Regions from separate parts of the Homo sapiens genome. Here region 1 is linked to region 2. Evidence: promoter capture Hi-C in 16 types of primary human blood cells and fetal thymus (Javierre and others, 2016). All regions are on one chromosome and are shown on one strand. Each heading gives the region's core, a stretch centred on a gene start or on the middle of the fragment in contact. The rest is flanking DNA. Distances are from core to core; before and after follow the strand shown. Region 1 overlaps ATL2 (atlastin GTPase 2). Region 2 holds the start of CEBPZ (CCAAT enhancer binding protein zeta).

Evidence for each region. Contacts are between HindIII fragments. The CHiCAGO score rates a contact against its expected background, and 5 or more counts as called.
Region 1: a fragment that was not itself captured here is called in contact with the fragment with the promoter of CEBPZ in region 2 in 1 of 17 cell types (monocytes); the score reaches 5.2 in monocytes.

The regions. Positions count from the first base shown.
Region 1 is chr2:38,357,017-38,362,538 of GRCh38, reverse strand. The region is part of intron 1 of ATL2 (atlastin GTPase 2); the gene reads left to right. Among named protein-coding and RNA genes, the nearest start is that of ATL2, 17 kb to the left of the region's middle. The HindIII fragment of the contact is 3,037 bases long and covers 1,509-4,545 here.
Region 2 is chr2:37,227,857-37,233,108 of GRCh38, reverse strand. CEBPZ (CCAAT enhancer binding protein zeta) reads left to right here and starts at 1,513. Exons shown (of 16, transcript NM_005760.3): 1 at 1,513-1,697; 2 at 4,073-5,252. The coding sequence starts at 1,542. It overlaps NDUFAF7 (NADH:ubiquinone oxidoreductase complex assembly factor 7), which reads right to left and starts at 1,451. Exons shown (of 10, transcript NM_144736.5): 1 at 1,349-1,451; 2 at 843-1,003. The coding sequence starts at 1,403. RefSeq lists enhancers at 1,562-2,011, 969-2,168. The HindIII fragment of the contact is 13,102 bases long and covers 1-4,213 here.

The DNA of each region.
Region 1 (5,522 bases), core at 1,778-4,277, 1.1 Mb before region 2:
ATGGATCAGCTGAATCAGACTCTGGAGGTGGGGTCTAAGAATCTGTATTCTGAGCCAGTTACCCAGATGGTTCTTAAACTCTAGTGGGTGTGAGACTCACTGTTGTACGGTGTGGCTGTGGCTAATTAAATATTGACAGTATTAACTCAGTCATAGGCCCATGATAAATAATTGAATTACAAATGTGTTGACCATTCTTTAGTAAGCAGTTTTTTGCCCCGTGATATGTCTGGTAAGGAAGGGTTATGTGTATTTGTAATTGTGATTATTTTGGTTGCTCTAGTTTTTTCCTAAACATCTAGTTTAATCTGGAACTTTAGGGAGCTAGAAATCTCAAATACCAGATGTTAGCGAATCCACCTTTCCCAAGCAAAAACAAGCCCTTTAAACCTATTCTTATTCTGCGCTTGTAGTTTTTTACTCATAAGAGTCGATTAGCTAATACTAGGGATTTATTTTAAATGATAAGCATCATTATGTGGACTGATTTGAGTCTCCTTTCTATGGCTGTATCACTGGGGAACAGTGATTGATCTGTTTAAGAATTATCCTATAACATCGAATAGCAGTTTGGTATAGTGGAAACAGCATGGGTTTAAAAGATAGAAATCTTGATGCATGCATTACCTTTTAACTGTAGAATCTTAAATAATTTTTAAAAAAACATCTTCGAAGATCCACATTTCCTCTCTGTGAAATGGGACTAATAGCTAAGTTACTGGGTTGTTGAGAGGATTATTTCATTGAGTCATTTCAGTAAAGGTAAGTTTTCTTGCCTGTCTGTGGAAGTAAATTTTGAGGCAAATTAAAATGTTTCATTAAAAACAATTGTAATGTATTTCAAACTTACAAAAATGACAGAGAAAGATAAAATAGATACCCAAGTAGCCATTGCATTAATCTAATACATAATATTTGCCATATTGATTTTGAATCCTTTTTAAAAGAGAAAATGTTACTGTGCAGTTGAATGGTTCACCCAATAACCTTTCTCTTTTACCCTTTCTTCGTAGATATGCACCTGTCCTGAAAGTGGTGTATGCTTTCTGGTTTTTAAATAGCTTATAACATTTGTATATTTCATAAATAATATACAGTATTGTGTTGTGTTTAAAACATGGTGAGTGGTTCAGACTGTATTTTGTAGCTTGATTTAATTTAAATTTTTTTTTTTTTTTTTTTTTTGAGACGGAGTCTTGCTCTGTCACCCAGGCTGGCGTGCAGTGGCGCGATCTCGGCTCGCTGCAGGCTCCACCTCCCGGGTTCATGCCATTCTTCTGCCTCAGCCTCCCTAGTAGCTGGGACTACAGGTGTGTGCCACCACGCCTGGCTAATTTTTTGTATTTTTTAGTAGAGATGGGGTTTCACCACGTTAGCCAGGATGGTCTCGATCTCCTGACCTCGTGATCCACCTGCCTCGGCCTCCCAAAGTGCTGGGATTACAGGCATGAGCCACCGCGCCTGGCTGCTTGATTTAATTTTTTTCATTCCACGTTGGTGTGGAAGCTTATCCATATGTAAATATTTAGATCTTATGCATTAATTTCAATTCTCTGACTTATTTTTTATTTATCCATGGGTATTTAGGTTGTTCCAATTTTTTTTTTTGTAGTTACCAACAATACTTTGGTGAACAAGGAACCATGTTTCGTTCTTCTTGTATATGTATGCAGGAATTTCTCTAGGATATAAACAACTTACCTAAAAAATATTAAAGTAAGAAAGTTTCAATATTGTGTACTCTCATTCTTTAAAAATCTGGTCCACATAACAAAAGTATGTTCTCCCTCATTTCCCCCCAAAAAAGTACCTAAGAGCCCGTCTAAGACCCTTTTTTTTGGTCTTGACTTGAGGTGAGATTTTCTTCAAGACTTCTCTGTAGAAGAAAATGAAGAGACTTGCAGAACCTGAATAAAATGTCTGAATTTCTGTCTTGTTGATTATAGAGTTCCCCGAGGCTGGGTGTGGTGGCCCACTCCTGGAATCCCAGCACTTTGGGGAGGCTGAGGCAGGAGGATCCCTTTAGTCCAGGAGTTTGAGACCAGCCTGGGCAACATAGTGAGACCTGGTCTCTACAAAAACTAAATTAGTTGACTGTGGTAGTGCATGCCTGTGGTCCCAGCTACTCAGAAAGCTGAGATGGGAGGATGTCTTGAGCCTTGGGGGTCAAGGCCACAGTGAGCTGTGATTGTGCCACTGTACTGCAGCCTGGGCATCAGAGCAAGACCCCATCTCAAAACAAATAAGCAAAACACCCAAAATCTTAAAAAAAAAAAAAAGAATCCCCTGAGCCATCGCTTATTCTAGAATCTCCTGACTAGCTAACAAAGTTGACTTCCTAAATTTTAACGTCATTTAAAATACCAAATTTAAATTTACTTTAGTATTCTTTTTTTTTTTTTTTTTTTTTGAAATGGAGCCTTGCTCTGCCCAGGCTAGAGTACAGTGGACGACGATCTCATCTCACTGCAACCTCTACCTCCCAGGTTCAAGTGATTCTCGTGTCTCAGCCTCCCAAGTAGCTGGGATTACAGGCATCTGCCACCACGCCCAGCTATTTTTTTGGTATTTTTAGTAGAGACGGGGTTTCACCATATTGGCCAGGCTGGTTTTGAACTCCTGACCCCAAGTGATCCACCTGCCTCGGCCTCCCAAAGGGCTAGGATTACAGGCGTGAGCCACCGCGCCCGGCCAACTTTAGTATTTTTTTTAAGTACACTTACATATTCAGGTGTATGCTTTTAAGAACTGGGTAATATTTGATGACAAACTTTGGGGAAAAATACTTTTGAGTTTATACATTTATAAACCATTTTACATTTTTCTTCGTCTATTTTAATAAATGCATAAAAGTATTTTTTGCCTTAGTGTTCTTTAAGTGGGAACAGCAAAAATTCTGTGACATCAGTGGTAGTTACTATGGAAACGGGGTACATTTCAAGTGGAAAATAGTATGTGAATCCTATAGGAAAAACAACTCTTTGTTTCCTGATTTAATAGTAATGAAGGAAGGAGATGAATGGTATTATATACTCTTTAAAGCATTTTTTTTTTTTTTTTTGAGATGGAGTCTGGTTCTGTCACTGAGGCTGGAGTGCAATGGCGGGATCTTGTCTCACTGCAACCTCCCTCTCCCGGGCTCTGGGGTTCAAGTGATTCTTCTGCCTCAGCCTCCCAAATAGCTGGGATTACAGGCGTGTGGCACCACGCCTGGCTAATTTTTGTATTTTTAGTGGAGACAGGGTTTCACCATGTTGGCCAGGCTGGTCTGGAACGCCTGACCTCAGGTGATCCACCCACCTCGGCCTCCCAAAGTGCTAGGATTACAGGCGTGAGCCACTGCAGCTGCCCTCTTTAAAGCATTTTTAAAAGTCTATTTTAGGATGGTCTTTTGTTGTTGGCTAGAAAGGGACAAGTCTAAGGGAGAAAATATTTGATAACTGAAATTGTTAATAAGTCGTTTCCTGGAGTCTTTAAAATTTTTGTTTTTGTAATTTGCATTGTAGTTCTAATTTTATATGAGAGAAATATGAGTTTATAAGTTCTTAATGTTTTACAGGACCAGATTATAAGTTAAAATATTTTCTTGTAGTATCTGTTTGACTAGTAGCTGTTTTTTTCCTTCAAAAAAAATTTATCGAAGTCCAAGTTTGTGTCTTTGTCAGTACTTGTAATACTTGTATCCCAGGCTGCAATAGTCTTGTGGGGGAGACCCAGCACTGTTATAAAAGCTCACCCAGGTGATTGGATGAGCTAGACTAATAGTTTAATAGAGCTAAACTAGCTGATAGTTTTCAATCCTAGCCGTATATCATGTTAACGTTTTAAAATAATTTTTTTTTTTTTTCAGACGGAGTCTCGCTCTGTCGCCCAGGCTGGGGTGCAGTGGCACGGTCTCGGCTCACTGCAAGCTCCGCCTCTTGGGTCCACGCCATTCTCCGGCCTCAGCCTCCTGAGTATCTGGGACTACAGGCGCCTGCCACCGTGTCCGGCTTACTTTTTTTGTATTTTTAATAGAGACGGGGTTTCCCTGTGGTCTCGATCTCCTGACCTCGTGATCCGCCCGCCTTGGCCTCCCAAAGTGCTGGGATTACAGGTGTGAGCCACCGCGCCCAGCCATTTTAAAATAATTTCTATAGCTTTTTCCTTTTTTAAGTAGAGATTGTTTTATGTACCTCGACTTTTTTGAACTTTGGTATATCAAACCCTTGATAGCAACCCTGGAGTGGTTAGTTGTATCACAGTATTAGCAGTCTCCCAGGAAAAATAGAGCATTACAGTTTAGCTTGAAAACTTTTTTTCTTCCTTGAAAATTTTATTTTAATATTGTTAGAAACTACATGAAATAGAATTAAATGAATGACACTTACATCCTAAACACTTGTGAAATAGAGTGACCCTTGTTAGTCCATATATCCTGAGGACCAGCAATTTTGGCATCATCTTGGATTGATAATAATGCAGTTTCAAGCTCAATCCCAGTTTTATTGAATCAGGATATGCATTTTAACAAGATACTCAGGTGATGTGTATTCATGTTAAGCTTGACTAGCACTGCTGTGGAGGAAATAACACTAAATAAGACCTGGCCTTGATTTCCCCCCAAACAGTGGTTTAATTGTATGTTTTTCTTATTTTTAAAATGAGTAAATTGGGCTGCATAATCTATAAAGCCTGTGGGAGTGATGTAATAGTTTTAATTTTAAGTATTGAGGCTAATTTTTAAGCATATGTACTAGAACTTGAATGTTGTCATGTATCTTGATATATATTCTAGGGTGTATATGTATGTTCTATTAATGCCTAAAACCTTGTAGTTCTTGGAAAATGCTTTTCCTCCCCAATATAAAAAAGTATCTCTAGAGGTTTTTTTTTTTTTTTTTTTTTGAGACGGAGTCTTGCTCTGTCACGCAGGCTGGAGTGCAGTGGTGCGATCTTGGCTCACTGCAAGCTCCGCCTCCCGGGTTCAAGCGATTCTTCTGCCTCAGCCTCCTGAATAGCTGGGACTACAGGTGTGCCACCACGCCCAGCTAATTTTTGTATTTTTAGTAGAGATGAGGTTTCACCATGCTACTTCTTTTTTTTTTTTCCTTAATCCCAAATGTGATAGGAAACATTTCTGACTGAGGGTTCTGTAGGAAGTAAATCATAAGTATATTAAACAAACATATATATAGTAACTATAAACTTTTTATTTTATTTATTTATTTTTGAGACGGAGTCTTCCTCTGTTGCCAGGCTGGAGTGCAGTGGCGTGATCTTGGCTCTCTGCAACCTCTGCCTCCTGGGTTCAAGTAATTGTCCTGCCTCAGCCTCTCAAGTAGCTGGGATTACAGGCACCCACCACCATGCCCAGCTAATTTTTGTATTTTTAGTAGAGACAGGGTTTCACCATGTTGGCCAGGATGGTCTCGATCTCCTGACCTCATGATCCACCTGCCTCGGCCTCCCAAAGTGCTAGGATTACAGATGTGAGCCACCGCACCCAGCCGGCTAAACCTTTTAAATTAGATTTCCAGCAT
Region 2 (5,252 bases), core at 264-2,763:
GTCAGTCCCTTTCTAAATCACCCTCTTCTATTTCTAGTACCACCACACTAGTCTAAGCCACCTATCTTGCAGCCCTGCCTAACCGGCATCGAAAGAAAGATACCGGCCTTGGGTAAACCTCGACACTAGAGTCACACTACCATATCCAACAACAATGGCCAATCTAACCCCAGAATTCCACAGAGGTCATATTTCAACCCAGCAAAAGATGAAATATTCTAAAATAAAGGACTATAGGCTTTCACCAAATGGCTCTGTAGAACAGACAAGGAAACGTGGGTCAGAAAGCTGTGACTGTGCCTAATCCTAGAACAGTGAAGACGACCCAGACTGCATTCTCAACTGCACATGTGAGAAAACCCAGCACATGTCTCCAATGCCAGCTGAAGCCATTCCAACACAGACGACTTTCCAGGCAGTAATTCCTATTTCCAGCTGCCTGTTGGAGATTTCTACCTAAGAGTCCCACACACTTCAAATTCATATACCAGCCTGAACTCTCCATCCTTCCTCCCGTATTCCTTCTCCCAAAGCAATGAATCCACACCACCCACCATCAGCCAAGTAGGAAAGTCATCCTTCCCGCATCATAAATCCAATCAGCTACATTCTGTCTCCTAAACACCCTTGGACCGTGTCCTCTCCTCTTTACTGGCACTGCCTCTGACGTGAGCCAGCCCTGACCAACTGACAAATTATCTGTCCCCAGGTCCTCAGAAATGGCTCTTCCCCTGGCAGGCACCCCCACTGCCTGGGCTGAGAACCTTCGGGCTTCTCCCTCCTGGCTTGCACCTCGCAAATCGGCTAGAGAGGGCCTAGTCCTCGGGCTACCCGACCCATACCTTGGCTGGATTAGTCAACACCTCCTTCATGTACTCGGCCACAGTGATGGGACCAGTAGACTTTATTTTGTACATAAGATGCCGCAGCATCGGCGTCACCGGGTTTTCTGCAGGCTCATTCCCGGAGCTGAAGTATTTCCCTCTCCAAATAAAAGGAATGGCTGCGAAAAACACAAATTAAACAGACCCCATGATAAATCTGACCATTCACGAGCGCAAGCCGCCTGAGCGTTTTCAAAACAGCTTCGTGAACCCTTAACCTCGCCCCACCGCAGACCGCGGGCTACTGTGCTTAGCACGCCCACGGGGCGCAGAGACAGCACCCACTTGCCCACGACTACGCAGCCCTATTGCGTTTGTACCGGACCCGTTTCCAGCCCAGGGTACCTTCAAGGTGGAAGTGAGCCCCCGAGCCCTTGATCCCCCGGTACCCTCAACTGAAGAGCTGAGGAAGGCGCCCCACGCGGCTTCCACGGCAACCGGGCTTCGAGGGGACTGACGCTTACCTGCGCGCGCCACGGCACACAACGGCCCCAAACCTGACCTCAGCAGTACACTCATGCTGAAATTCGCAGGCTAGCTCGCTCCGCCAGGAGCTGGGGCTTAGACCATTTCCGGGAGAAGACACGCCCCGACAGGAATTACGCCACTGGCAGAGCGGAAATAGGCTGAGTTTCACGCGCGTATGCTTTGCCCGCCATGGCCGCAGTCAAGGAGCCTTTGGAGTTCCATGCCAAGCGGCCTTGGCGCCCCGAGGAGGCAGTAGAAGATCCGGACGAGGAGGATGAGGATAATACTAGTGAAGCCGAGAATGGGTTCTCCCTGGAGGAAGTGTTACGGCTCGGAGGCACCAAGGTAACGGCCGCGGGCTCCGGGGAACGGGATCAGGCGTGGAGAGTTCCGAAGGTGGCTAGGCTGACTGCCCCGCCGCTTCCGCGCTGCGTAGAGCGCGGGCGTCCAGGACCGAGATCCCAGCCTCTGAAGCATGTGTTCGGTGCGCTTCCCACGCCGGTTTCCACTGCTGTTTACAAAAGAAAAGTTTCGAATTGAACGTTGTATTCTCTGGCTATTCTTAGGATGTAGGCGATCTTCTGATTTTATTGACGTGGTATAACCATCACACCATCAGGTCGGAGAGTGGCTTTTCTTGGTCCTGACCTTGTGGTATGAGTGTTTTGAACACCAGTGGTATTGGAATTTTCATTTCTGTTCTCATAGAGTACATGCACGTGTCACTGTATGCCCCAGAAGCCCTCTTTTTTGGAGCATCCTAATTAAGGGAGAGAAACAGTAAACAAACTTTTAAACACATAGTACAGCAGACGCGGGGTAGTGCTATAAAAGAAAATAAAACAAGGAAGGACGATAAGGAGTGGGAGCGCGTTAGTATTAAATGAGATGATCGACAAACACATCACGGAAATGTTTGAGCAGAATCCTAAAGGACAGGAAGGAGTGAGCTGCCATTCCAGTCAGTTGGAACAGCAAATGCAAAGACAGGCAGAAGAGTGCCTAACCTATTCCATGAGCAGCCAAAATGCCAGTGTAGCAGAGGCAGAGTGAGTTAAGGGGAGAATAGTAAGAAAGGAGGGCCGAGGGGTCAGAGGGCAGGCTTTTGCTCTGAGTTTGATGCAAAACCACTGGAAGATTTTAAGCAGATAAGGAACAGAAATTAACTTTGTTTTTAATATTATTTTGTTTGGAGACTGGACTTTCAAGGTGGAGGAGTTAGTTAGAGATAGGCAGATTCACAGTTTGCTCTGTGCTTGTGTATATTTAAGTTTTGAATAGGTAATATATACACATGAAACACGTGGTGCAAACTTTAAAAGATACATAGTGAAGTCAAATTGTTTCCACTTTTATCTCAGCCATAACCATTGCCCTGATAGGAAGCAATTATTTTTACAACTGCATTTTATATCTTTCAGGGATACTATATACCTTTTCAAGCATATACATACTCATTTATGTGTATGAAATACGGGTGTATCTTTTTTACATAAATGGTACCATATATATACACCTATCTCTACATTTTGCTTTCTTTTCTGTCTTAGAAATCCTTCTATATCAGTGCATAACGTTCTGTGTCATTGCTATGGCTGCATAAATCATTTTGTCTGTCTTAATTTATCTAACCAGCCATTTATTGTGAATATTTAAATTATTGCCAGTCTTTCACTATTTTAAATAATACTACAGTTAATAACCTTAATCGTGTTTTTCCCCCACTTTTGTAAGTGTATATGTAGTATAAATTTGTAGAAATGAGCCAGGCACAGTGGCTCACACCCATAATCCCAGCACTTTGGGAGTCAGAGGTGGGAGGATACCTTGAGTCCAGGAGTTTGAGACCAGCCTGGGCAACATAAGGAGACCTCATCTCAAAAAAAAATTTTTTTTTTAAATAGCTGGGCGTGTAGTGCCAGCTACAGGCTGAGGTTGGAGGATCACTTCAGCCTGGGAGGTTGAGGCTGCAGTTCAGCCATGGTCATGCCACTGTACTCAAGCCTGGACAACAGAGCGAGACCATGTCTCAATCAGTTAGTTAATTTTTAGAAATGAAGCTGCTGGGCCAACAGATGTGTGCCTTGTATTAAATAGTTGTGATTGGAGTTGACAAATTGTCCTCCATGGAGGTTGTGTCAGTTTACACTCACATCAACCATGTATGAAAGTGCCGTTTCCGCCACCCCTTCCCCAGCATCACCTGTCATTGTATCTTGCTCATCTTGCAGTGTATCTTTGCTCATCTGATAAATTAAAAGATGGATGTATCATTGTGGTTTTAATGTGGATTTGTCTAAACCTCAGTGAGGTTGAACATCTTTTCATATTCTTAAAGAACCCTTTTTTTCTATGAACTGTTCATGTCCTTTGCACATTTTTCTTTTGGGTTGTCACTTACTGATGTGTAGAAACTTATATTAAGGGATTAAACCCAATTACTTTGATAGGAATTGCTTGTATTTTTTTTCCAGTTTATAATTTATATTTTTTTCCTATATCGAAATAAAAAGTGTGTGTGCGTGTGTGTGTGTGTAAAAGAAAGAGAGAGAAAGAGAAATTTACTTATCCTTTCCTTTGTGGACCCTGAGTTTTATGTCAAATTTGAAAGGATTTTTCCAGTTCCGAAATTATTTTTAAAATTATGTTGTGTTTCCTATTATTTTATGGTTTTATTTTTCACATTTGTAATGTATTTTTAACTTATGTTTTTAATGCAGCAAGATTACCTTATGCTGGCTACTTTGGATGAGAATGAGGAAGTGATAGATGGAGGCAAAAAAGGAGCAATCGATGACCTTCAGCAAGGTGAATTGGAAGCATTTATTCAAAATCTTAATTTGGCGAAGTATACAAAAGCTTCCTTAGTTGAAGAAGATGAACCAGCTGAAAAAGAAAATTCCAGCAAAAAAGAAGTAAAAATACCTAAAATAAATAATAAAAATACAGCAGAAAGTCAAAGGACATCAGTTAATAAGGTGAAAAATAAGAATAGGCCAGAACCACATTCTGATGAGAATGGCAGTACCACACCGAAAGTAAAGAAAGATAAACAGAACATCTTTGAATTTTTTGAGAGACAGACTTTGTTACTTAGGCCTGGAGGCAAATGGTATGATCTGGAGTACAGCAATGAATATTCTTTGAAACCCCAGCCTCAGGATGTTGTATCTAAGTACAAAACCCTTGCTCAGAAGCTGTATCAGCATGAAATCAACTTATTCAAAAGTAAGACGAATAGTCAAAAGGGAGCCTCTTCTACCTGGATGAAGGCAATTGTGTCATCGGGGACACTAGGTGACAGGATGGCAGCCATGATTCTTCTTATTCAGGATGATGCCGTTCACACACTTCAGTTTGTAGAAACTCTTGTGAACCTTGTTAAAAAGAAGGGCAGCAAACAGCAGTGCCTTATGGCCTTGGATACTTTCAAAGAGTTGCTTATCACAGACCTTTTGCCAGACAATCGGAAGCTGAGGATTTTCAGCCAGCGTCCTTTTGACAAACTGGAACAGTTGTCCAGTGGCAACAAGGACTCAAGAGATAGAAGACTGATATTATGGTATTTTGAACACCAGCTGAAACACTTAGTGGCTGAATTTGTGCAGGTCTTAGAAACTTTAAGTCATGATACATTAGTAACCACTAAAACTCGAGCCCTTACCGTGGCTCATGAGCTGCTTTGTAACAAGCCTGAGGAAGAAAAGGCTCTTCTTGTGCAAGTGGTAAATAAACTGGGAGATCCTCAGAACAGAATTGCCACAAAAGCATCCCATCTGTTAGAGACATTACTTTGTAAACATCCCAATATGAAAGGAGTTGTGTCTGGTGAAGTAGAAAGGCTACTCTTCCGCTCAAATATCAGCTCCAAAGCTCAATATTATGCAATTTGCTTTTTAA